Regions from separate parts of the Homo sapiens genome. Here region 2 is linked to region 1. The links are contacts of gene promoters, found by promoter capture Hi-C in blood cells and fetal thymus (Javierre and others, 2016). All regions are on one chromosome and are shown on one strand. The core of a region is centred on a gene start or on the middle of the fragment in contact, and the rest is flanking DNA. Distances in the headings are between cores, read along the strand shown.

What was found. The method cuts DNA at HindIII sites, captures the fragments that hold promoters and counts their contacts. A CHiCAGO score of 5 or more calls a contact.
Region 2: a fragment that was not itself captured here is called in contact with the fragment with the promoter of LINC00917 in region 1 in 1 of 17 cell types (endothelial precursors); the score reaches 6.0 in endothelial precursors.

Annotation. Positions count from the first base shown.
Region 1 is chr16:86,342,898-86,350,610 of GRCh38, forward strand. LINC00917 (long intergenic non-protein coding RNA 917) reads right to left here and starts at 2,782. Exons shown (of 7, transcript NR_024406.1): 1 at 2,595-2,782. The HindIII fragment of the contact is 3,722 bases long and covers 1-3,645 here.
Region 2 is chr16:86,416,820-86,424,532 of GRCh38, forward strand. No RefSeq gene overlaps it. Among named protein-coding and RNA genes, the nearest start is that of LINC00917, 75 kb to the left of the region's middle. The HindIII fragment of the contact is 156 bases long and covers 3,211-3,366 here.

The DNA of each region.
Region 1 (7,713 bases), core at 1,532-4,031:
GCAGTTGGGACTGAGGTACCAGCCGTCTGCTTCAAGCAGAAGATCTCAACTGTTTTCTATTTTACAAAGGACACATCTTGGGAAGGTTTCCTTAGAAAATAAGGTCCCAGGATGAGATGAGCTAAAAACTCCTAACCCATTCCAGTCTCTCCTCATTTTACAGACAAGGAAACTAAAGCCCAGAGAGACAAACTGCTTCCCTGAAGGTCACACAGCTATTCCTGGCAGAGGCAGGCAGACTGAGTTCATCTGGATCCAGGGCTTCCTGTGTGCGCTGCACCAGCCCTACGTGAGTATAAGAAGGTTCTGGATGGGCTCTCGGAGCCGTCGAGACAATCCCATGCCGGGCAGCCTGATTTGAGCCCCCCAAGGTCCCGGAGCGAGCTTGCTGGGGCCTGCTCAGTCCTCCCCACTTTGGAGCCCACCCCCCATCAGAAACACGGAAAGCCAAGCTGGCACACAGCTGGCGGCTTCAGGTTCCCGGCCAAGTTCATTTTGACATTACAAGACAAAAAGCACAGCATGTTGCGATGGGACTGGCCGTTACTGCGGTGCCATTCAACAGGGTTTACGATTTTCCTGGAGCCTCTCGGCCGGGTGATGCCAGAGAGTAAGCCAGAAAAAGAAAATTCCTAGGTGACGTAAATGCAGTCACGACGCTTGCGAGGGGCATGCACTTTTCCTGCCCCGGGAAGGGGTGGGGTGCGGGGAACGGAGCCATTTTAGATCCAAATAGAGAAAGAGAAAACGAAAAAAAAAAAAAAACCCTGTGCTGTGTATTCATTTCATTGCATAAGATCCTTGTTCACTCACTGGCTTTGTTTTCCAACCAAATGCCTTTGACTTAATAAATGCTCTGGGCAATTAGCAGACAGGGGGCCCCCCATGAAATCATCAGAGCTGAGATCACTCGAGAGGGTATCAGACAGTCAGGACATTAATTGCATTATTTTATTTCCAGATAAAAGTTATTTTGGTGGAGCCAGGCTTGCCAGAGAAGAAGCTGATAAGATCAGATGCCGTCTCTCACTGCCAGATATCCTATTAGGGGTCTCAGCAGACAGGGGATTGGGTGACAGTCCAGATCTGCATGGACAGCAGGAGTTTGTTTCAGGCCAGAGGAAAAGCCCAGGGTGCCTGAGGAGTTCCCTTATGCCATGGAGAAGCAAAGTGGGCTATGCAGGCCCTCTGGGGGCTTTAGATAAAGCGAGTACGCTTCTGATGGCCCTAGCCACAGCAATGGCTTTCACAGGAAAGAAAAAAAAATTCTCTTCTCTTTCTTTTTCAAGAGAGGGACTCTTGGTTCCTTAGTAAACATAGATGCCTGGACTCGGTGCGCAGCCTAAGGTCTCTCTCTCTTGGCAGTGGCCCAAAACGCTCTCCCAAGCAAAAGGGAAAAGAAGACAGAGGGGGGTTGGGGATTGTGTCAGGTAGTGAGCTGTTTCCTGGAGAAGCCTGCGTCTGGTTCCAGAGGGAAGTGAGTTTCTAAGAGAAGGCATCTGTAGGAATTTTGCCCATCAGCCGTGACACCAGCACTGCTGTTGGAGGGATGAACAGCTCATGACAAAGTCCTGTCTCCTCTCTCCCCTTCCCCGTGTCTGTGCAATATCATTAGAACTGGCAGACCCTTATTAAAAACAGTTGGCCACTGAGAGGCTATATCCTGTGTGAGACAGAAGCCCAGATGGTAGGTGGTCTTACTTTTGGGGTGGGGTGTTCCAGGTGGTAACAGCCTCGAGGGCGGGAGGACCATGCCGCCTGTTTCTTGGCATCCGTAGGTGGTTCCTGCCTCCTTCCCTTTGGCAGGTGTGTGGGAAGGATTGAGTGTGAAGGGATGCTCACAAGCACTGAGAAGATGGCCTGGCACTTGTGAAATGACAGAGGTGGCCTGGGAGGTGTCCCGGACCCTGGATTTAATGTGCAACACATGGTTCAGTCGGTCCCAATGTTGGGACTGTAGAGAACGTACCAGAAGCCTCACAGATACTCAAGGAGTCGTGATTATTAGGACTGGGCTGAGTTAGCTCTATCTAGTACTTTGTAATTTTAAAGACCTACTCAAGCAATATTACAATATAAACGGGATCACATGGACTACCTTTCTACTTCAAACAACTCCAGAGGCATCCTGCTGTGGATAACAGAAGCTGATTCTCTTTCTCTCTCCGCCTCCTCCTCGTCTTCCACCTCCCTCATAAAGCATCCCCCAGCACTGACAGGGTACCGTCATAATGATGGTTATATTGAACTATGTGAGTGCCTACTCTTTGCTAACCAAACTAAATTATTAGTTGCATCATTTCATCTCAACTTCACACAGTTATTATATTTTTTCCTTTTTCTTTTATTATGGCAAAGTCTAGTTAATGTAAACCTTGCCATTTTAACTTTTTTAAAGTGAATATTTCAGTGGCATTGGGTCCATTCGCATTATCGCACCACCATCGCCACCGTCCAATTTCAAAACTGTTTCCATCCTGCAGAACTGGCACTTAGTATTCATTACACGACCCCCTCCTGCAGCCACGCTGGGAGCTGACCCTCTCCACCCATGCTTCGTGCACTCAGGCGCTCATCCAGGGATCATCCTGTACCTCAGACTCTGCCAAGAACTGTCCGGCCCCAGGGCCTTTGCAAGCGCAGGTCGCACGGCCTGGGATGCCCTCTCCCAGCTCACCACATGGCTGGCTCTTTCCCATTCATTGGCCTCAGCCCAGTGGCCTCCTTCTCGTCAGAGAGGCCGCCCCTGCCTGCCCTGGCTGGCCGGCCCCTCCCCCACAATGACTCTATGACATCATCGTGTTCCTTCTCCTCGGAGCCCTCAGACCCTCTGAAATCCTCTGGTCTGTGTTTTGTTTCCTCCGTCTCTATCTCTCTCCCCACTAGAAGGCAGGTCTCAGGAGGGCAAGGACCCGGCCTGTCCAGCTTCCAGCCGTAGCCCCAGGGCCGGGTGTGCAGTAGATACTCAACAAGCCTTCTTTCCTCCCACCAGCCTTTCCTCCACAAGGGGAGACAGGACTTGGGGGTGTTTTTGGGGGTCTAAACAACACAAAGGAAAGAGACGCTGAAGTGGGTGAGCTGGCCTCGCACTGCACTTCCTGCTGGAGTTCAAAGTCAGCCCTGCCCCTGGAACTGCCATGGCCAGTTTAGATTGTTCCAGAATCCCGCTGCAGGCTGTTCAAAAGGCTCCCAGCTGCTATCAGGAAATAGCTCAGGAAGGTCCCTGTTAAACACCACCCCCATCCCCGTAACCCTGAGCAGCCCTCCGCCACCTGCTATTTTCTATCTCTGAGAATTTGCTGACATTAGGCAAGTCATGTCTGTGGAATTATACAATGTTTGTCCTTTTATGAGTGGTTTGTTTCACTCGGCACCATATCCTCAAGGCTCACTCATGTCATAGCAGGTGTCAGAACTTCCTTCCTTTTTAAGGCTGAATAATATTCCACTGTATGGATGGACCACGTTTTGTTTATCCATTCTCCTGTCAATGAACATTTTCGTTGCTCTCAGCATTTGGCTGTTAGGAATAGCGCTCTGAGGACATTTGTGCACACGTGTTTGCATGGATTTAATTGTTTTTCCTTTTCTTGCCTGTTCTTGGGTGTCGTGGCCAAGAAGCCACTGCCGAGTCCAACATTGTGAAGCTTTCCCCCTATGTTTTCTTCTAAGAGTTTTGTAGTTTTTTTACATTTAGTTATTATGGTAATGCCTTTGATCCTTTTTGAGTTAATTTTTTGTATCTGGTGTAAGAGAAGGGCTCAACTTCATTCTTCTGCGTGTGGTATTTGGTTTTCCAAATACCATTTTTTGAAAAGACTGCCCTTTCCCCACTGAAGGGTCTTGGCTCAAGACACTTGAATGTCAAATAAGTCAAAGGGCTTCTTTCTGGGCTCTGTGTTCTGTCCCATTGGTCTATCTGTCTGTATGTAGGTCAGGACCACAGTGTTTTGATTGTCATAGTTTTCTAGTAACTTTTGAAATCAGAAAGTGTATGACTTCCAACTTCCTGGTTTGTATTTTTACATTTTATATTTTGTCCCCATTTTACAGATGAGACAAAGGAAGCTCAGAGAGGGGAACTGACTTCCGAGGTCACAGAACAAGCAAGGGTGGGACAGGATTTGAACCCAGGCTTGTTTGACCCCAGCCCCTTTCAACAAACATTTCTGTCTCAGCTTGGATCACAGAGCAAGAAAGTTACAGCCCTTCCCAGCCCCCTTCCTGTCCTGCTGATGAATTCAGCTGGGGTGGCAGCCTCGACACATCTCAAAGGCTCTGATACGGTTTGGCTGTGTCCCCACCCAAATTTCACCTTGAATTGTAATAATCCCAGCATGTCAAGGGCAGGGCCAAGTGGAGATCATTGAATCATGGAGGTGGTTTCCCCCATGCTGTTCTCATGGTAGTGAGTAAGTCTCACGTGATTTGATGGTTTTTTAAATGGGAATTCCCTGTCACAAGCTCTCCTGCCTGCCACCATGTAAGACCTGCCTTTGCCTCTCCTTTGTCCTCTGCCATGAGTGTGAGGCCTCCCCAGCCATGTGGAACTGTGAGTCCATTAAACCTCCTTCTTTATAAATTCCCCATTCTCAGGTATGTCTTTATTAGTAGCGTGAGAACAGATGAGGCTCACTGGACTAGCTGGTGGGGGAGGAGAAAGCAGCCCATGTTCCCTCTCTCAAGCAGGACCATTTTGTTTTCCTCAGTTTCCCTCTTCCACTTCCACTTGGGGACCCCCACAGCCATGGCCAGAGAGAGGGAGCTTGGGGTCCCAGTGCCTGGTACAAACTCACTCTGCCCCTCACTGCCCTTGGGGTCCCCACTCTGTGGGGTCAGGGACCGGGGTCCACAAGGAACTGCTTGTCGCCATCTTCCCACCCCCCACCCCAAAGGGGCTTGAGCATGTTCCCAGGCTCGCTTTCCCCACTGAAGGAGGGGTGGCTGTGTGAGTCCTTCCACTTCATGACCCTCTCTGTTTCCTTATATGTTCAGCAAAGGCTTGACTGAAGTCACGGGTCTCATCATTCCTTTCCTAAGCTTTCTTCAAACAGCATGGTGCGTGGATGAGGACACACGTGCTCTGTAGAAGGTGGGGCCACAAAGCCCTGCCGACCGACCTTTCCTGCCTTCTGCCTCTAAGGTGCAACCCCGAAAGCACCTGCTGGAACCTTTGGGGCTCAGGGAGCACAGCCTGGAAGCAGGGGGATACTCCCCAGGGCTGCAGTCCACCTCGGAAGCTGCTCACCACAGGTGTCTGCTTACACTTCAATTCAGATCACATAAGATACACATGCAGCTCTTAGGCTTCTGAGCCACCCTTCAAGAGCACAGCCACTCGTGGCTAATGGCTGCTGACTGGAACCCTGGATGGCCCAATCTGGAACTTTTCATCACCCCAGAGCATCCTGTGCAGTGCTTCTCCCGGGGAGCCCTGCAGGCAGTGACCTCCAGCTCCGAGCCTGATCCCACATGAGCAGGAAGAAGACAGCCCAGGGAGGCTGCCCACAGCCACAAGCTCATTTCTCATGGCAAACCACAAATGGGAGATGCTAAGAAATTAGAATAGAGGATGCTCCAGAGCAGACGCTCCTGTTTACAGGTACCTGGTTCTATACAGTCACGCATGAAAGGAAAATGGTGATATCTAAGAAACAGAGGAATCCATGGGCTCAACCAATGAGGTCGTAAGGAGCTCTAGGATGGGGGTGTCACAGAGGTCTCACATGTTTAGGTGGGTGGAGAGTTTCAGAGCATGACTGGTTGATAATAACTGGTAGGCACTGTTGGCGGACGGCAACCATGCCAGGCATATAGCAGGGTGCTGCGTCTTCTCTAATTCTCACTGCGGCCAATGAGTTTAGAGATTTTCACTCCCATTTTAGAGATCAGCTGAGACACAGAAAGGCCAAGCAGCTTCCTCAGTCAGAAAAGGGGCAGAGCCAGGGTTCACCCCCTGGCAGAGCCATGCACCAGTTCTGCAGAGCCCAGGACGGGGTGAGGCCAGTCGTGAGGGACAGAGAAAGGCCTAAAGAAAGAGGAGGACAGAAAAAGGGCCCGTGTTGGACAGAGAAGGAGCGATTACTGAGGCCTGAGGTCAGGCTCATGGAGGGCACTGGCCTGTGGTCCGCAGTGGCATTCAGAGCATGCGTTGGTCCTTCCACCACCATGTATAGCTGGTGCCCTTGGAGATTCCATCTGCTTTCCTATGGGGTCTGTGAGGTTGGACTTCGGGAGCCCATTTCATGGACCTGAACACTGAGTATCAGAGGGAAGAGTTTGCCAGGGGTCAGCCTCTGTATCCTCTCTCCCCACGCTACATCTGAGATTCACCCAGAGGGGCCCTTGGGGAAACACCCAGTTGTTGAGAGCAGCAGATCTCAGACTTGGGCTTGCATGAGGGTTCCCTGGAGGGTCTGTGACGGGGCCGGGGTGGGGCTGAGAATGTGCATTTCTAACACACAAACTCCTTTCATCCTGCAGAGCTGAAACTCAGTACTCATTAAACAACTCCCTCCTGCAGCCACGCTGGGAGCTGACACTCTCCACACATGCTTCATGCACCCAGGCGCTCATCCAGGGATCATCCTGTACCTCAAATACCCCCAAGAACTGTCCTGCCCCAGGACCTTTGCACATGCTGGACCCACTACCTGTGATGCCCTCTTCTGGCTCACCACGTGGCTGGCTCCATCTCATTCATTGGTCTCAGCCCAGTGGCCTCCTCATCAGAGGGGCTGTCCCTGCCTGCCCTGGCTGGCCCAACCCCTCCCCCACAATGACTCTGTGATGTCACTGTGTTCCTTCTAGGAGCCCTCAGGGCTCTGGAATCCTCTGGTCTGCACCCAGGTGGCACTGCTGCTGCTGCTGGTCCAGATACCACCTTTTGAGAACCACTGGTTTAAGGAACACGCCCCTCCCTGCTCATTCAGTTGAGGCCTCTCCTCAAGAAGATATCTTTGCATTTGTTGTTTTTGTGTTGCTTTGTTTTGTGTTGCCGTAAAGATGTGAGATGCTGCTCCTGGGACTCCAGGCTGATTCCTGACACCAGCATGTCTGCATTTTTGCAGAAGACCAGAGAATTCTGGGGTTCGAAGCTATGAGGTTTTGGGGTTTCTCTAAGGCAGTGGTGGGAGGAAGACCTCTCCCCTGAGCCCTCTCTCCTCAGCCAACCAGGAAGCTCAGAATTCCACAGCCTCCCTGACTCCCACCTCAGCAGGCACCAAGATTGCTGTAATTCGGCACTGGCAGGTCTTGCAGGAGTTCAACTGATCCTGGATCTCGCTCCTTTTGACCTGGAGTATTTTGTAGGCTCTTTCTTATCGACAAGCTGTGTGTTCCAGGGAAACTCTCTCCTCTCTCCCTGGTCCATGCTGAAAATGCCGTTGAGGGCTTTGCATCATTTCACTGTTCCCAGAGTGTCTACATTTAAAAGTTTCTCCAAAGATTTTCCTTCGTAAACGATCATCAGAAGCACATCAAAAACCCTGAGCACTCTCCCCTCTGCCCTGCTCCCTGTTAGCTGATTTTATAACCCTCCTCCTCAGCGTAAACAGAGCTGATCACTTTATACCCTTTGTATATTGTTTCTTAATATGAATGAAGTGAAACAGCTAACCAGTAGTCATTCAAATTATTGCCTAACATAAACTGACAAGGAGCGTTGAAGTGTTTAGCCTCAGAAACTGTGAACGTGGTCACAACTTAGTAATT
Region 2 (7,713 bases), core at 2,039-4,538, 74 kb after region 1:
GAGAAGTCACACTCGCTACTTTAAGCAGAAAGAAATTTGGTATAAGAAATTAGGCTTTGCAAGTCTAGAGGAATAAGCACTAGGCTGGAATCCAGAACCGATTCACCGGGAAGCTGCTGCCGTTGCCCCTGTCCAGAGGGCCAGACGTTGGAGGGTGGACATGGGAGCTATTGAGTTCCCAGGCACATGTCTGCTACTCATAGTAGCACATAGCTGCTACTCAGGGGTCGGGACACAGGAATGAGAAGCTGCTGTCACAACTGCCTTTTTGCACCATCAGAGGCAGGGACAGGGTCACAGACCATGCTTTTCTGCAGGAACAACCAAGAGGCAGAATATGGTCTCGGCCTCACTTTCTTTTTCTAAATTGCATCAGTGGGAGTCTGCCAGCATCTGAGATCTACAGCCAGGGAGCCTGGGAAGTGCGGGTTTTAGCTTTTCCCTCCTCACAGTAGGAAGCTGACTGGAAAGGGCTGGAATGGGTGTAGAGCTCTGCTGGTCAAGCCTCACAGTTACTATGAATTATGGATACAGTGAGGCTGGGCAGTGCAGCAGTGACTTTCTCTAGTCACCTCCTAAGACGTGGGAGATGTCCCAGACCCATCTCTGCCTCATCGCCAAATCAAGCCTAGGCCCAGCAGGTGCTGAGCATGCTCCTTGCTGTCTTGCAGCCTTGCCTGGCTCCTCCCAGCACCTGTTGCAGGTAGACTGTGATCACGTGTGCTCACCTGCCTCGCCCCTCCAAGCAGACAGCTCCTTGAGCACTGGAACGGTGTCCACCCATGCAGCCAGGCACAGCATGGGGACTCAGTACACGGGGAGCCCCTGACCTGAGTCCAAGAGGTGCACCACGTGGAGGCTGCTGCCCCTTTTCATATTTCCCATTTGGCAGGAAACCTCCATCAGGGAGGGTGGGGACATTAAATATGTTTCTACTTCTGTCTGCATCCTCACTCAATTTTCAAAGCCAAACAAACTGTTAAACCATGGTCTTTCTCATTTTTTTAGCCTGTAATTATATTTAAAAGACTGTTAAAATTTTAAAAAAAAAACATAGTCTCATCCATTTTGGCTTGGAGTAGTCAACATAATCAGATAATCAGCTCTTTGAGAATGAAGGAATTGTCTTTCACTTTTGGGCAAGACCTGGGCACCCAGTAGGTGTTTTATTTTTCTCTATGCACAGTGGTTTTTGAAGAGGCAGAGATCATAGGCTCTGCTGTGCCCTGGTTTTCACCCTGGCAAGATCAAACATACAGAATGTGGGTCACTGCTAAACTTTCTTCCGTTTCTGTGCTTCTGGGGATCAGTTAAAATACGCACTCAGGATACTCAGCACACACAAATGTCCCACAAAGACCAAGTAATACTGACACTACCCTTTAAGACACTCTGTGTAAAAAAAACTGGAAGACACAGAGAGTGGCGCAGCATTTTAAGTCTTCTATTGACCAAATTTGGTCCTTCCTAAGAACTTCAATTAACCTCTCACAATTTATTTACAGAATGGGTAGAAGCTCAATAATGATGATTATGATAATAGTAGCAAAACCAGCACCAATAATATTAGTAACCGCAGTAATAATAAGGATTTCACTAAACAAATACCATGCAGGAGATTTTGTTGGGGGAGTTTTTATAATTCTCACAACAAGTTCCCATCGTGCTGCTTATGACGGAGACAGAACGTTACAAGGTCACCTAACCTCATGAGTCCCAGAGTTGGCAGGCTTTGCTGCCATTGAGTAGCTTACTCTCTCTGAGCCTCAGTTTTCTCTTTGGAAAACTGGATATAATGATTATATTTATGAAAATTAATATGAGTTAGTATATGTAGTGCACTTGGAGTGGTGTCTAGCAACACTCATCATCTTCACCACCACTACCACCACCATCGTCAGTACTTGGTAGCTTTCATCATCACATCATCATCATCCTATTGTCCTCCTCAGTCATACTGCATGTGCTTTAATCTTAGAGTTGATTCTTAAAGAAACAGCAAAGTGTAGCATAAAGAGCGCTGGGCTTGGTATCACGTTGTCCTGGACTTAGATTCTTGGACCTGCCACTCACTGCTTGTTTTCCCTTGGGCAAGTTTATTAAATTCTCTGAGTATTGTTTTCATTCTTTGTAAAATGAAAATAACTGACTTCAGTTCTTAGAGTTGTTGTGAAAATTAAGGGAAATACAGTATGTACAGTATCTAGAATATAGTAGGTGCAAAATAAATGGTAGCTGTGATGATGACAATGGTGATGGTGATAATGTTAGTGATGATGGTGATGATGATGATGGTGGTGATAATGGTAGTGATGATGGTGATAATAATGGTGATGGTGATGATGATGGTAGTGATGATGGTGATGATGATGATGGTGGTTGTGGTGATGGTGATGATGATGGTGGTGGTGGTGATGGTGATGGTGATGATGGTGGTGATGGTGATGGTGATGATGATGGTGGTGCTGGTGATGGTGATGGTGATGATGATGATGGTGGTGATGGTGATGGTGATGATGATGGGGGTGGTGGTGGTGGTGATGGTGATGATGGTGGTGATGGTGATGGTGGTGGTGGTGATGGTGATGATGATGGTGGTGGTGGTGATGGTGATGATGGTGGTGATGGTGATGGTGGTGGTGGTGATGGTGATGATGATGGTGATGATGGTGGTGATGGTGATGGTGATGATGATGGTGGTGGTGGTGATGGTGATGGTGATGATGATGATGGTGGTGATGGTGATGGTGATGATGGTGGTGGTGGTGATGGTGATGGTGATGATGGTGGTGGTGGTGATGGTGATGATGATGGTGATAATGATGGTGATGATGCTGGTGATGGTGATTGTGATGATAGTGATGGTGATGATGATGGTGCTGATGGTGATGATGATGATGGTGATGGTTGTGATGATAATGGTGATGGTGATGATGATGGTGCTGATGCTGATGGTGATGATGACGATGGTGATGGTGGCGATGATGATGATTGGCAGTGATAATGGTGGTGATGATTATGATGATACTTATGGTGGTGATGATAATGTGTCAGTGTGAGCAGTGGTGATGGAGATCTCAAGCAGTCTGACCACCCATCCAGTCCAAACATTTCTCTTCAGGAGACCTGAGATAAAAATCAATCAACATTTGCCTAATATCAGCAAATAACCACAATATATTTTGTAATACTGAGACATAAGACATAATAAGCTTACTGCAGGAACAGTTTGCTGTAATTCTTTTTCTGGGAATTCTAGAAAGCATCAGTGCCTGGCCCTCCAAAACTGCAGGAAGAATGGAAGAGCAGAATTGGGAGCTGGGACACTCACTCTGTGGGAAAAGTGACTCTCCTTATCACCACATAAGCTTAATGGAAGCCAACAAGTCAACCTCATTTGGAAAATTTTTAAAAACCTATTTCTTAAAGTTCCTCAAGGTAGCAAACTCATGAGACTTCCCCTTAAAGATTAACTATCATCTTGAAATTTTGATCTACTTTACAAAAAGTAGCAACATTAAAGAAACTCTTGGGTGAGACACAAAATAACATTATTTTTATTTCTGACCTTTGGGTAAAGTGGAGATAATAATAACACATGCTTTTCTGTATGATTCACATTAGTACTTCCTGTTTCTAGCATAACACACAGTAGGTTCTCAAAAACTAAAGTCTGTCAGATGAAAGAATGGTGAAGTGGATGAATAGATGAAGGAAATTCTTCTGTATATGGCAAATTTGACAATAACATATATATTAATAATAACATGACACTAACTTTTTCTGCCCCTTTCTTCACTAAATGTGATTTTGTTTGGGAATTTTGTTTTGCCTATTTTAATATCACTAACTTACCCCAAAGTTAATTGTAAAATAATATTTATTTCTTTATATAGTATAAATATTTATTATTTATTTATAGGCATTTACTACATGCTAGAGGATTTTACCTGTACTAAGCCGTTAATCCGCACAACAACCCTGTCCAGGTAGGTTATCACAATTATTCTCATTTTACAAATTAAAAAGATAAAGTACTTAATTTGCCCTAAAGATAGAATTTCAGGAGTCCAAAATCACATATGTATTAGTCCATTCTTGCAGTGCTATTAAAAAAACATACTTGAGACTGGGTAATTTATAAAGAAAAGAGGTTTAATTGGCTTACAGTTCTGCAGGATGTACTGGAAGCATAGCGCCTTCTGCTTCTGGAGAGGCCTCAGGAAACTTGCAATCATGGCAGAAGGTGAAGGGAAGCAGGCAAATCACATGGCCAGAGTAGGAGGAAGAGAGAGGGGAGGTGCCACATACTTTTTAACAACCAGATGTCATGAGAATTCACTCATGATCATGATGATAGCACTAAGGGGGATGGTATTAAACCATGAGACACCACCCCATGATCCAGTCACCTCCCACTAGGCCCCACCCCCAACACTGGGGATTACAATTCGACATGAGATTTGGGTGGGGACACAGATCCAAATCATATCAACCTACTTACAAGGTTATTCATTGCAGCACGATTTGTAATAGCAAAAATGTGAAAACTGAAGGCCTGACAACTGGGTGCTGTTTAAATAATTGATGATGCATACGTTGAGTGGAATATAATTCAACTGTCAAAAAATGAGGCAGATATTTATACATTGATGTGGAGGTATGTCCAAGATATATTAAGTGAAAAAAAAACAGCAAAACAGAGAATAGTAGGTAATGTATATTATATGCAGTAATGCACCACATAAAAGCAGACCACATATGGCTGGGCACGGTGGCTCACACCTGTAATCCCAGCACTCTGGGGGGCCGAGGCGGGCGGATCATGAGGTCAGGAAATCCAGACCATCCTGGCTAACATGGTGAAACCCTGTCTCTACTAAAAAATACAAAAAATTAGCTGGACGTGGTGGTGGTCATCTGTAGTCCCAGCTACTTGGGAGGCTGAGGCGGGAGAATGGCGTCAACCCGGGAGGCAGAGCTTGCAGTGAGCTGAGATCATGCCACTGCACTCCAGCCTGGGCGACAGAGTGAGACTGTCTCAAAAAAAAAAAAAAAAAAAAAAAAAAGACCACATATATGACAGCGATCCCATAAGTTTATAATGGAGCTAAAAAATTATAAAGGAGCTAAAAAATTCCTATCCTTGTAGTGCAATGCATTATCTTTTCCATGTTTAGTTATGTTTAGATAGAAAATTACTTACTATTGTTCTGCAATTGCCTACACCATTCATTATAGTAGCATGCTGTATAGGTTTGTGGCCTAGGAGAAGCAGGCTGTACCATGTAGCCTAGGTGTGCCGTAGGCCATACAATCTACGTTTGTGTAAGTACCCTCTATGATGTTCATACAATGATGAAGTTGCCTAACAATGAAGTTCTCAAAATATATCTTGCTGTTAAGTACCAGGTGACTGTATTTTCTTGTGTGGGTTGTTGTTACATCTGGAAGGATACCCAAGAAAATGGTAAGAGTGGCGGCTTCCTAGAAGGGGAACCAAGAGGCTGGGTGGGTTAGTCAGGAGACGCCAGGTGATGCTACAGTAGCAAACGACCCCCAAAATCAAAGTGGCTTAAACAACAGAGGTTGACTTTTCATCTATACAAATGCTCATGGGATAATGGGCATTCTCTGCTCATATATCACTCAAGAATCAAGCCTGCTGGTTGCCACACCTGAGGGTAAAGAGGTCTGGAGGATCTCTGGAGGTCTGGAGGTCTTCCTTGAGCTGACAATAAACTGTGCCAACCTTCAAGGGACATATGTGACTGCTGCTCACAGTCACTGGTAGCGCTTGTCACATGATCCCCTCAGCCACAGGGGGAGCAGGAACTGCAAATCTCTGGGTGCCTAGAAGGTAGAGAGTGGAACCTATTTAGTGAACAGCGTTAATGACTACCACTCTGGGGACAGAAGTTGGAAGGAGAATTTCTTTCCTCCATAAACCCTTTTAAACTCCTGAATATATTAACCATATATGAAATGAAAAAATTTTAAGTACTCTAGATGAGTTAAGTAGCGTTTAAGATAAGCATGTTATAAGCTCCAGGTGACTTGTAGAGACCATACATCCCCCCAGGTGAGAGGAAGGAGAAATCACTGCAGGCAGGGAGTGGGGAGGTCAGGAAAACACAGACCATTTCACTGTCAATGTGCATTTCAGGAGAACCTATTGTGTGCCAGAGCTGTGCTCTGTAATGGGAACGCACAGCTAAATAAGACCTGGTCCCTTCCCTTGAGGAGTTCATAGTCTATTTGCCTGGAAGCCAAGAGACCTGGGTTCAAATCCCATCTCTCCCTGAGTAAACTTATTTTACTTCACCTGTAAAATGAGGCTGAAATACCTACTGTAGAAGGTTACTGAGAGGATTGGCTATACCGCATGACCAAGGGTCTGAACAAACCTTCATTGACTAGGAACCTGTTGGTCCCCCAAGACATCTCGCATGTGCAAACACCATGCACGGTTTCTACCTTTCCTTGAGATGTTCGCGACGTGACAAAGAGATGAAGTCTTACAGACTGCAACCTTCTTCCTTTTTCCCGCTTGCTCCTGTTTTCTTCTCTCTGTTAATGGACCAGCTCTTTGGGGTTAATAGGGCCACTTTTCATCCTGTCGAACCACATCATCTGTGATCTCCCCATTCAATAAATATTAGAATGTATCCATGGGGAATAATCTGCCCGGTATCTTATCAAAACTTTCAAAGCTGTAACTCAGTTCAGATGGGGGGATTTTCAGGCTGCAAAGGGGGAGGGGCAGGAAGAATGTCAGGATCTTGGGACTATCAAGATTTGGATTAGCAAGCAATTTCCTGAGTTCCCCGACTTCATAGATGAGGTCAGAAAGGTCCGTTCTGAATGGAACCCATTAATCTCCCTGTTGTGAGCGAGGAAACGTTGGAAAGCGCAGGTGTTAACAGTCTCGGTGTTATTTTTGGGAGAATGTGAACTGAACACTCGCAGGAAGTGTACTATTCCCTTGCCAGCATCCTGGAGTATTATTTTAGGCAGCAGAACTGAGGCTTGTGAGCAGAAGTCAGGTTTCAACACACCTTTAAGGCAAGAAGGGTACTTCACAAGCAAGAATTTTGCTGCTGTGTTTGGAGGACTTAAAATAATCGATGTGTTCTGCAAGGATGCTCAGAAAGGCCGCCTAGAGAACGCCCTGGTACGGCAACGACCACGCAGCGCCACAGCCACACCTGACTCGGGAATATCTGGACTAACCCTAGTTCTGCGGCCGAGAGGGGCTAACGTACGCACCACCAGCCCCTAGACAAACACAAACGCATGTGAGTTTTAGGTTCCACCGTTGTCACTTCAGCCCAGGGTCAGTAAACATTTTCTGTAAACGGCCAGATGGTAAATATTTTAGAATTTGTGGGCCGTACGGTCTTTGCTGCCATGATTCAACCCTGCCATTGTAGCATAAAAGCCACCTTAGGCAATCCACAAACAAACGGGCATGGCTGTGTCCCCATAAAACTTTACAGGCAGTGAAATTTGAATTTCACATAATTTTCATATGTCATGAAACAGAATTCCTCTTTTGATTTGTTCAACCATTTTAAAATGCAAAAACCCACTTTTGGCTCTCGGACTGTATGAAAACAGCCCCTTTGGCTGTCGGCCTGTCGTTTGCTGACCTCTTCTAGACGATTTAATTTCCACACTGACACTATTGCCTAAGGCCCATTTCCAGATTTT